3 separate regions of the Homo sapiens genome follow, and regions 1 and 2 are each linked to region 3. Evidence: promoter capture Hi-C in 16 types of primary human blood cells and fetal thymus (Javierre and others, 2016). All regions are on one chromosome and are shown on one strand. The core of a region is centred on a gene start or on the middle of the fragment in contact, and the rest is flanking DNA. Distances in the headings are between cores, read along the strand shown. Region 1 holds the start of PIP (prolactin induced protein). Region 2 overlaps LOC124901764 (a long non-coding RNA gene). Region 3 holds the start of KEL (Kell metallo-endopeptidase (Kell blood group)).

Region 1 (3,520 bases), core at 467-2,966, 170 kb before region 3:
ATCTCAATGCACTGGAGGTATTTGTAGGAGCATCTTTGAAGATCCTCCTTCTGTGGTCCCCAGGTAGGGTTTAGGAATTTGTATTTATTTAGCTCCTTAGGAAATTTGGACATATGGCCATGTTTGGGAACTTTAGATACTACTCTACATTTAGACCATACACTGCAATCTGAAAAGGAAAGGAAATGGAGACAAATAAAATGGTCAAATGTTCTTCTTCAGTCAATGAGGACTGGGTTCGGGGCCAGGAGAGTTATTTTCTCGTCCCTAGAAACTCCCGGCTACGGACCTTTGTTATTGTGTGGGACAGAAGGGAATTGAGATTCTTAGCCCACAGTGTCTCACAGCCCCATTTTCTTGGGGCAAAGCATCTTAGAGAGATTCTATTTTTTGGTGCCAACTGCTGTAGTGCCCAGTGCACAGGAAAAGGGTATAAATACCTAAGCAACTTCAAAATCTCTCCCATTTGTATATGAGTTTCAGATTGATAGGATGACCAGCTTAGTTCGAGTGACTAACCATCTCAGTTTACCCAGGACTGAGGTCTTTTCCAGAATGGGTTGTGGAGGTGGCGGGGGAGGGCAGAGTTGCAGTGCTACAACCAGGAAAGTTCTGGGCAAATCAGGATGGATGGTTGATAACCTAATTAGCATAGCTTATTTGAATACCTTGCTGCCCTTCAGGGCTAAGTGGACTGTCATCTGGCGGGAATGGGGTGGGATCTGAACCTGTCCCCATGCAGGGTTTCTTGGGACACTTGCCTCCATTACATTAGCTTGTCAAAACCCTGAACAGTTTCCTCCAGGACAGGATATCTGACCATGCCATAGAGAGTACCTCCAAGATCACAACCCAGAAACCCAGCATTATAAACCCTACTGCTATAGAGAAAACTCCCTAGATTGGGTATCGCTGCTTTCTCCCAGACCCTTGGCTCCATTTTCTACTTTATTTTACTTGCTCCAATTTTTCTGCTTCCTTCACACATGTGTTCTCAATAAGTTGACTTCTGAACCTGTGCTCTCAGGTCCCAGTATACGTGAGAGCAAGAGGTCATCATATTCATCTTCAGACTTCAGGTTAGGAAGAATGTCTAAGCTGCCAGTCTAGCTCAATCTCAGACCACAGGGCAGTGGCCAGGGCCTCTGGTCCTTTAGCCAGTCCTGCCAAAGCTGCCCTAAGCTGCCATTGGAATTCACAGACCTGTTATGCTTCTCTTCTAGGAGGCAAGGTGTGAGAAGGTAAAGTTTACTGAGCAGAAATCTGAACAAAGGTATAAATTATGAACAAGATGTGGATCAGCATGTTAGATGAAGACTAACTACTAATTACAGCCTGTAGGTACATTTGGAGCTTTATTTCCACTGGCAATGCAGAAACACCCAGCAAAAATGTGAGAGGAGTTGGTGGGGCTTCCTAAGAGGACAAGAAGTGGAACCTGGCAGGAGATCCATGGGAGCTCCTGGGACTAGAGTTCTGGGAAGTTGAAAGAAATTCTCAGAAAGAGATATGTAATTTCCAGACTGGGAGAGGAGCCCTCCCTGCAATTTTTTTTGTGGGGAGGAGAAGGGCATGGCTCACGTGTTGTCCTGAGCTTTGTTGGCCCCCAACTGCAGGCAGAGAACCAGGAGCAGGGTGGCAGGGCTGGCCCTGAACAGGAGCTGGAGCAAGCGCATGCTGGAGAAAACAGAAGGCAATGTGTCCCAGAGAAGTGGTGTCCCAGGTGCCCAGCACATTTCTTATATACAGATTGATCAAGGAAGTGCAAGAGCTGCCAGGGAGATCCATGAGGTGAATCACCCATTCACCCTCCCCACTCGTGATCTTTCCTTGTTGACCCAAAGTTTGTTTTTCTAAGAAAAAATCAACACTCAGCTAGAATGTCAGCGTTTGAGAGAGGAGTCAGATTGTTCTTCCTTATTTTTTCAGCATCAGAGTTTCTCAAAATGGCTGGGACCTCAAAAGATACACCAGTTTTTCCCGAGTTTACAGATTCAGTTTTCTTTTCCCTCCTAATTTGCCTGTCTGAAGTGCTATGTGTAGTCTTAGCTTCAGTCACTGCTCCCCTGGTCTCTGAAAGCAGAGAACACAGCTGTGGTGGCAGGTTTCAGACCAGAGACATAGAACATCTTTGCTTGATCAAATTATAGTGAGTTCAAGATGCAATGCTATTCAAAACATTTCTTGGAGGGCTAGGATGATCAGGACTTCCCTAGCAGTCACTACCCATCATGAGGTGGAAGAGCTAGAGAAGACCTGAGCTGCTCTACATGATGGGGAAGTGAGTTCAAGACACTGGGTGATGTAAAGATGTTTATTGTCATTGAGTCCTTCTTAATTTCAGGTGTGGTTGCAATATACTGCAGATGTCCAAGATCCCCAGCTGCCCCACAATCCCCAAGGCAGGGTGATATTTTAATTCTAGACAATTCCTATAAATAGCTGGCACCCCCAAATCAGACTTCTTGGCACCAAAGAGCTGGCTTATTTTCTTATTGACATGGCCACTTTCTTACACTTGTCTCATGCGTAAGCCACACAGGAAGAACCACAGTGGAAAGGATTCCTTCTGTGAGAATGGAGCCCACATTATGTCCAGTAGATACCCAGGTTGTAGAATTCCTCTCCTTGGGATGATGGGGAGACTTGCTCTTGCTGACACTGGCATTGTGTTATTTCTCCTTATGAAATTAAATCTGCTCCTTAACCTATGACTTACAATACTATGGGATTTGTTTCTATCATTTGCATGGCACACAGCTGCCCAGGAAGAGCCTCTCTGGCAACAGAGTGAAAATCAGAGTTCTAGGAGTTACCGCCTCTGTATGTTGCTTTAGCCAGGATTCAGAGCTAAAGTGTAAGTGTGTGCTTCTGCTTTCTGGATGTATCTCTCAAAATTGCTCTGTCTGTTTATTCAGCTCCTGGATCTACCTTCTCTTTTCTTTGAATTGGACACCATTCATGTCATTGCTCACTCAGAACTTCAGCTGTTCTCATGATCACATGCTTTCTTCCCTGTTTATGTCCTATCCACTCAAGAACACTGCTTGTGAGGGTCACAATGACCTTCCTTTGTAAGCCTTTTCCCACAATTAAATTGTCTTTACACCTGGTCCTTCTCACTTGCATAATTTCCATTTGAAGCACATCCTAGCTACACTGACCAAGGCAGGCATAAGGCAGAAGAATCTAGGAAGTGTCTGTGTGGGAAAATGCAGGAAAAGTTCTTTGCTTGGCTCTTTGAAGGCATAGCCCTGTCCTTGAGGATGCAACTCCAGCACTCCCAAAAGGCAGTGTCCAGAGGAAGGCAGATGACGATGGGTTAAGAGCATCTATTGAAGGTAATGAGGCTGTTCTTCTGTGAGCTAGCAGGAAACTGCAATACCTACAATGTACAGGACAATCTTTTTTTTTTGAGACAGAATCTCACTCATCCAGGCTGGAGTGCAGTGGCATGATCTCAGCTCACTGCAGCCTCCACCTCCCGGGTTCAGGAAATTCTCATGCCTCAGCCACCCGA
Region 2 (3,729 bases), core at 217-2,716, 240 kb before region 3:
TTGTGTAAAAAAAAAAAAAAACAACAATGCACATTAGGAAAGTAATTCATTTAATTTCCATGACCCAGCCCCTCCTGCCTACAAGCCCCCCTCCCCCATCCCATGCAATCCACCTCATAGGTAAAAACATATTCTGGGCAAACTGACTCATTTCATGTCACATTTATCCCACTCAAGTTTGTCCCTCCTGCTTTGAGCCTGGATTCCACGTAAAGGTGGAAGGTGATTTGGGCTGGTCTCCAGGCAGTCACCACCTGCAACCTATTTTCTTCTCATCACGACACCTACGTTCAGTGTCACCTTTTCTTCTCCCTTGGGCTGCCCCTTTCTTGCTCACTCCCATGTTCCAATGCCAGCAGCTCTGTCTTTGTGCTCAGCCATGCTTGTTGTTCAGCAGCATTCCTCATTAGAATCCCATTATTTGATGGTCAGAGTAGGGTCTCCATGGTGATACAGGCACAAGTGTAGCCAGTATTCTGCCACCGCATCTTACCTACTTGGCAGGCAAGCTAGAGTTGGCCTAAATTCTGCTTTTATCATTTATGTGTTTGTTCTTATGCTTTTAGGAAAAAAAAATCCTGAAATAATGGTGAAGGACAGCAAGTATTTGCCTAGAGTGCATGCTAAGAAGTCTCCATAGATGTTTTTCTTTAAGTATCCTGACCGCTTAACATATTGATGAAGACCTCTTATTTCCAGGTCAACAATCAGCTGTTACCAACTTAAGCTTTCTAAACATTTTCTGTGAAACAAATTTTTGCCAGTAAGAAAAGGAAATTGGGAGCTGCCACTGCTTAATTAATTTGAAGCTTTGATAAGCTTTGCCAGAGAGTCGCATAATAGAATTAGCAAGTTTCTTAACAGGTGAGAAAGCACATGAGCATAAACAAAAATAGGATAAGACTATCATCAATGGGGTTTATGCACCAGCTTAAAAAGCCAGTTTGGGGGACTTTTATGACTCTGAATTAAGATTTGTGCAATATAAGATTGTCCAGGATAAAATATTTTGGGCACCAAATATTAAGCTTCTGAAATAGACCCAGAGGTTCTTGTATGATAAAAAAAAAGTATGTATAAGGTTTTGATTTGATTTTTTAAATAATGTGTTCACTACTTCCCTTTCTTCTGAGACTCCATAGAGAAAAAAATATCATAACACTAAAGAGAAGGGAATGAGGATGGCCAAGAGCAGACTGGAGATTTCATCCTATTTCTTGGTTGTGGACAATCAGAAAAAGCATATTGTAGATGAAGTGGAGTAAAGGATGCTCAGAATATGCATGTCATGGGCCTCTGGGAATGTGGTGGCTGATCAGGCTGCTAGAAGCCTGGAGGGCCTTGGCTATCGGATTCCTAGCTTTGGATAGCAGGAGCGAGACATTGTGCAAAAACCAGAGGCATCATTAAAATTCTGTCTGCCATATAGCTGCATCATTGATGCTTTCCAGTGCCTTCCTTGCCACTGCATACAGAACCATCGAAAACCTTCATATTGAGAATTCTTTTCTAGAAAAATTGAATACATTTCCAAGGAAGAACTAGGGCTTCAAGTGCAGATATTTGCACATAGATTAAACCCTTTTTTTATTATGGCATTTTGAATTTCCAGGCTAATGTCAGATTCCACACCCACATACCTAAAAGAGGAGCCAGCCTGTCAAGGTGGCCCAGTTACAAAAGAGAGCTTCCAATCAGCCTTTCCATTCAGGAGACCGTTCTACTGGAGAATGATACCTGCTTACCCAAAACAGCCTTTCCTTTTCCTTCATGAATTACTAATCAAGGATGATCAGAAATAGGAACAAAATCCACAGCCTGAAAGAGAAAGACCAAGCTAAACACCAAGAGTGAATTACCCCTGAAGAAATAAAGATCAAAGAAGACAAAAAATTTAAGCTTGTGTCCTTAGAGGAGGCACAGAAGATATTGCCTCCATAAAATAAGAGAAGGATGCTATTAAAAATAAACAATTAAGAAATGAGAAGGTGAAAATGTAAATTAGTAAGTCATTATGGAAAACAGTATGGAAATTCCTCAACAGTTAAAAATAGAACTAGCCATATGATCCAGCAACCCCACTACTGAGTATATGTCCAAAGGAAATCACTGAGAGGTATCTGAACTCTCAATGTTTATTGCAGCACTGTTTACAAGAGTCAAGATATGGGATCAACCTATGTGTTCACCAATGGGTGAATAGAGAAAGAAAATGTGTTTTATATATACACAGTGGAATACTATTTAGACATAAAAAATAACTGGAATACGGCCTGCACAGTGGCTCACACCTGTAATCCCAGCACTTTGGGCGGCCAAGGCGGGCAGATTGCCTGAGGTCAGGAGTTCGAGACCAGCCTGGCCAACATGGTGAAACCCTGTCTCTACTAAAAATACAAAAATTAGCCCGGCGTAGTGGTGCATGCCTGTGATCCCAGCTACTTGGGAGGCTGAGGTAGGAGAATTGCTTGAACCCAGGAGGTAGAGGTTACAGTGAGCCGAGATTGTGCCACTGCACTCCAGCCTGGGCAACAGTGTGAGACTCTATCTCAAAAAAAAAAAAAATTGTAGTACTATCATTTGTGGCAACATGGGTAAACCTAGAGAACATTATTTTAAGTGAAATAATCCAGGCACAAAAAGACAAATACTGCATGATCTTACCAATATGTGGAATCTTAAAAAGTTGATCTCATAGAAGTAGAGAGTAGGATAGTGGTTATCAGAGGCTGGGGAAGATAGTGAGATTAGGGGGCAAATGGGGAGAGATTTGTCAATGACTACAAAGTTACAGTTAGATAGGAGGAATTAGTTCTGGTGTTCTATTGCACAGTAGGGTGACTATGTTAGTTAACAATGTTGTGTATTTCAAAATAGTTAGAAAGGTGGGGCACAGTGGCTCAAGCCTGTAATCCCAGCACTTTGGGAGGCCAAGGAGGGTGGATCACCTGAGGTCAGTTCAAGACCAGTCTGACCAACGTGGTGAAACCCCATCTCTACTAAAAAAATACAAAAGTTAGCCAGGCGTGGTGATGCATGCCTGTAATCCCAGCTACCTGGGAGGCTGAGGCAAGAGAATTACTTGAACCCGGGAGGCAGAGGTTGCAGTGAGCCAAGATTTCACCATTGCACTACAGCCTGTGCAATAGACAAACCAACAAACAGACAAACAAACAAAACAAACATCAAAATAGGAAAATTTTGAATGTTCTCACTGTAAAGAAATGATAATTATATGAGGAGATAGATATATTAAATATCCTGATTTGATGATTACACAATTTATACATGTATTAAAATATCACATTATACCTCATAAATATGAATAATTGTTAAATGCCAATTAAAAACAAAGTAAAAAAGACACAACAGGCTTTCAGATATTTAAAGTATGATTTAAAATTACATCCAGGCAATATATGATTATAGTAAAAACAAGATGAAGTCAAGGTAATCTCTCAGAATTCAGAGCAAAACTCAATCATGAAAAAGATAAAGGAAAAGATGAGAGACACAGTTGTTTAACCCAGGAGGTCTAAGATCTGACTGAAAGAAGTTTTAGGTAGTGAAGTTAGAGACAATGGAGGGAAAAACATTATTTTTTTTTTTAAATAGAAGAAAAAATTTCAGTGCCGACAAAAAACATGTTATTTTAATTGGTAAGCCCAGAGTTGGTCTTACATAATTTTCATCAAGTGGAACATTCACTACAAATTTACTAAGACATGT
Region 3 (3,792 bases), core at 998-3,497:
AAGAAGTCCTGCTCCTGAGACAGCTCCCAGGATGGAGGTTGCTTGGCCTTCAGGAGGAGGCTGAGTAGGAATGGTGGACCTGGCAGCTGTGCTGCCCTATCCCTGTGGCTGGCTCAGCTTCTCTGACAGGGAGAGAACCTAAGTCCAGGCTGTGGTGGCTGTCCATAGGCAAATGTCACAGAGCACACTCCATCTTCAACTTTCTCTTATCAAATCTAAGTGGTCTCCATTATCATCTTCCTAGGGAAACATCAGCTCAGGGGCTTTGATTGATAGAAAAGGAGTGAGGAAGGGAATATGTGTGAAGGAAGCTAAAAGCCCATGGGGAGAGTATTGGACTTTCTGTGGAAGGGAAGTTTGAAGAGGAGGCACCATCAGGGTGTACCCACACAGACCAAACACCTCTAGAATCCTGAGTCAGCTTTTTCCCCTCACTCTGATTCCTACTCCCCCCTTAATCAAAATTCCATTGTTCGCTGGCATCACTATTCCCCTAGTCATGCAGAAATGCAACTTGGAGCTCCTCTGTGGCTCTATCATAAACCCCTCCTCCATTCAATCCATTGCCATGACTTTATTCCATACAATTTTTCTTTCTACGCACTTCCCTCCCCTCTGCCATCCCCTTGGGCCGGGCCCTCCCTTCATCACTCCTGCAACACCAAACTAACCACTCTGTTTCTTGTCTTTTATCCAATCAGTCCAGATCCCCAATACCACACCGGCGTTTCTTAGATATTATTGTATCTTGCCACACCTTTCCTCAAAAGCCTTATTTTTCCCAATGCTTTCTTTTCTAATGTATGAAGTTCTGACTTTTCTTTATGACTTTCATGATACCCGACCAGCTGGCCCCAGGGGGCACAATGGCTTTACTCCACTTCTCCACACCCACCCTCATCCTGGCAAGTGCACCATGGCCCTAGCACAGTGCTGATGGAATCTGGAAATATCGCCAGGGGATCATTTGCAAGACTAACCTAATAAATTACATTATTTTTTTCCTGGGATGAGGAAACAAGGACAGAGTTGAAACACCTTCCCCCAGAAATGTGCTTGCCTCTCTCAGACCACAGGTAAGGGCTTAATATGATGTGAGAAAGAGGATTTCTGGCTTGGAATGCAATTCATTTCTATTAACATTTAGAAAGCATCTTGGGTGGGCAGGAATGAAAACCAGACACTGTACATGCTATGACATAGTTTTCAATCACTAAGGAGATGAAGAGGCAAGCTATCAGTGTAACAGAAAGCAGAATGAAAGAAAGAGGGGCTCAGTAAAGCCTTATTCTTTTGTAGAAGGCATGAGATCCTATGAGGTAGGCATAGGCAAGTATTACCCTCATTTTCCAGATGACAAAACTTGCTTACCTGCCTCAGAGTTTAAGTGGCTTGTTTATTGTCACAGAGCTAATAATTAGCAGATTAGGGTCTCCTAGCTGGGTGATCTTTTGAATGCATGACTTTGCCAGCAGCCAGCAGAGCTATGAAACACCGAGAGAAACAATTAAGCATGCTTGGGAACAGTGTGAATGGGCATGGAGCTGGGAGGCCTCCTGGGAAAGGTGGCATTTGACCTGGGAATTGATGAATCCCAGAAAAGCCAATCAGAGAGGTGTGAAAACAAAATTAAAATGGAGACTGGGCCTGAAAAATTCCCAGGCAAACAAAGCCAAAGACCTTAAAAATAGCCATATTCTTGCTAAAACTACAAACATAAATTAAACTTAACTTGGGTCAATTTCTGATAAATGCTTACAACAAATAAAACTTAACCCCAGCCAATGATAAGCAGCCAACTAACATATGATTATGTGACTAGGGACTTTCCAAAAAGTTACCTAAAAAATGCAATTATGTAACTGCAAACTAAGCAAATAATGTTTCATTTTGCTTCTATAACTTCCCAATAAATGCTTGCCTCTGACATTTTGTCATCGCAACACTAAACCTTTGTCGGTCTGGTGCTCCCCAATTCATGAATTGCTTCTTACTTAAATAAACTCTTTAAAATTTTACTGTGCCTCATATTTTTTTTAATACAGAAGAAATGAGAGAAGGAAGAATATTTTAGAAATAAAGGAACTTCATGGGCAGAGTCACAGTGCAAGACAAAAGGAGCAGACCAAGGGCAAGATTGCTTGGGGAGTGAAGACTCCCTCCCTCTTCTCCCCTGAGAAGCTGAGATAAAGGGGGAGGAGAAGCCTGGGTGCCCCCCACTGATAAGCAGGCTCCACCCAGAGGCCAGTCCTGTGTGTCTGGGGACAAGGCGAAAGAGCAGCAGAAGTGCCCCTTCTCCAGGATCAAGGAACTGGGGCGGGGGGTGTTTCCTGGACCCCAGTCCTCCGAATCAGCTCCTAGAGTGGAACCAGGAAGGATTCTGGAGCCACAGAAGATAGACAGATGGTAAGTCCCCTTTTGGAGTCAGAGGCTTAGCGGGGAGGGGTGAGGGTGGCTGTGTGCAAAAGTCCTGCCCCCACTGGAGGGGAGGGAATGTAAGGCTTACAGAGTAGAAAGGTGGGGAGAGAGGGAGGTAATGGGAGAGGGATCGAGAAATGGCACATTCAGGGGACAGGTTCGTTCTGAAGCCCATCTGGGAACACTGCTCCGAGATAAAAATATGTGTGTGGGGGCAGGGCAGGCAGCGAGGGTATCAAAATGGCCTGATAAAACTCTCTTCAATGCACCATTTCCTGAACCAGCTTCTCTCTCCTCCTTCTCCCTCCACTCACTTCAGGAAGGTGGGGACCAAAGTGAGGAAGAGCCGAGGGAACGCAGCCAGGCAGGTGGAATGGGAACTCTCTGGAGCCAAGAGGTAAGTGGCCTCCTCTCCTGGGTCTGGAATACACTGATGTTGTCACTCTCGGCTCTAAAATCCCACAAACACTCATCTACTAACTGTCTGCTTCATCCTCACCCAAAACAGTTGACATTCCTTGTTTTCTCATCTCCCAGGAGTTAAAGTAGGGCTGGGTTTAGGAAGAATTGGGATAATTATTTCTGTATAAAGGGACTGTAGCACCAACAGATTCATTCTCTCTCCTCTTCTTCCCATCCCTGTCTCTCAACCCCCATCTTGTATCTTTCACCTCTTGGTTCCTCCCACAGAGCACTCCAGAAGAGAGGCTGCCCGTGGAAGGGAGCAGGCCATGGGCAGTGGCCAGGCGGGTGCTGACAGCTATCCTGATTTTGGGCCTGCTCCTTTGTTTTTCTGTGCTTTTGTTCTACAACTTCCAGAACTGTGGCCCTCGTAAGCAAGATCCCAGACCCCCTAACCTAGTCAGCCCTCCCCCAGCCCTGGGGCCCAGGCCCAGTCCCTGCTCCTGGGGCTTCTGCCCACCCTGACCCTTGGGGTCCCCATGGTTCTTCTTCCTCCCTGCATCCTAACCATTTCTTTTTCATCAGCTCCCCACTTAGTTACTCACCTGATGTTCTTTGCCTAGCCCCTTGGGGGAGCCCTTGTCTTTTTGCCTCTTCTTTCCCAGCTCTGAGCTTTTCCCCACAGGCCCCTGTGAGACATCTGTGTGTTTGGATCTCCGGGATCATTACCTGGCCTCTGGGAACACAAGTGTGGCCCCCTGCACCGACTTCTTCAGCTTTGCCTGTGGAAGGGCCAAAGAGACCAATAATTCTTTTCAGGAGCTTGCCACAAAGAACAAAAACCGACTTCGGAGAATACTGGGTGAGGAAAGCAGGGTGGAAGATGCTCTGTGCAAGTGGGTGACTCTGTGCCTAAAATGACCATGACTGCTCCAAACCCTGTGTAGTTGTGGAACAACTGATTTGCACCAT

What was found. The method cuts DNA at HindIII sites, captures the fragments that hold promoters and counts their contacts. A CHiCAGO score of 5 or more calls a contact.
Region 1: the fragment with the promoter of PIP here is called in contact with the fragment with the promoter of KEL in region 3 in 4 of 17 cell types (M2 macrophages, M0 macrophages, naive B cells and 1 more); the score reaches 6.7 in M2 macrophages.
Region 2: a fragment that was not itself captured here is called in contact with the fragment with the promoter of KEL in region 3 in 1 of 17 cell types (neutrophils); the score reaches 8.2 in neutrophils.

Annotation. Positions count from the first base shown.
Region 1 is chr7:143,130,273-143,133,792 of GRCh38, reverse strand. PIP (prolactin induced protein) reads right to left here and starts at 1,716. Exons shown (of 4, transcript NM_002652.3): 1 at 1,582-1,716. The coding sequence starts at 1,676. The HindIII fragment of the contact is 4,172 bases long and covers 1-3,520 here.
Region 2 is chr7:143,200,311-143,204,039 of GRCh38, reverse strand. It overlaps LOC124901764 (a long non-coding RNA gene), which reads left to right. Exons shown (of 2, transcript XR_007060567.1): 1 at 1-864; 2 at 1,613-1,984. Among named protein-coding and RNA genes, the nearest start is that of TAS2R39, 19 kb to the right of the region's middle. The HindIII fragment of the contact is 871 bases long and covers 1,031-1,901 here.
Region 3 is chr7:142,960,818-142,964,609 of GRCh38, reverse strand. It overlaps KEL (Kell metallo-endopeptidase (Kell blood group)), which reads left to right and starts at 2,247. Exons shown (of 19, transcript NM_000420.3): 1 at 2,247-2,406; 2 at 2,738-2,815; 3 at 3,109-3,250; 4 at 3,506-3,682. The coding sequence starts at 2,404. RefSeq lists a cis regulatory region at 1-165 and a silencer at 2,288-2,483. The HindIII fragment of the contact is 12,002 bases long and covers 1-3,792 here.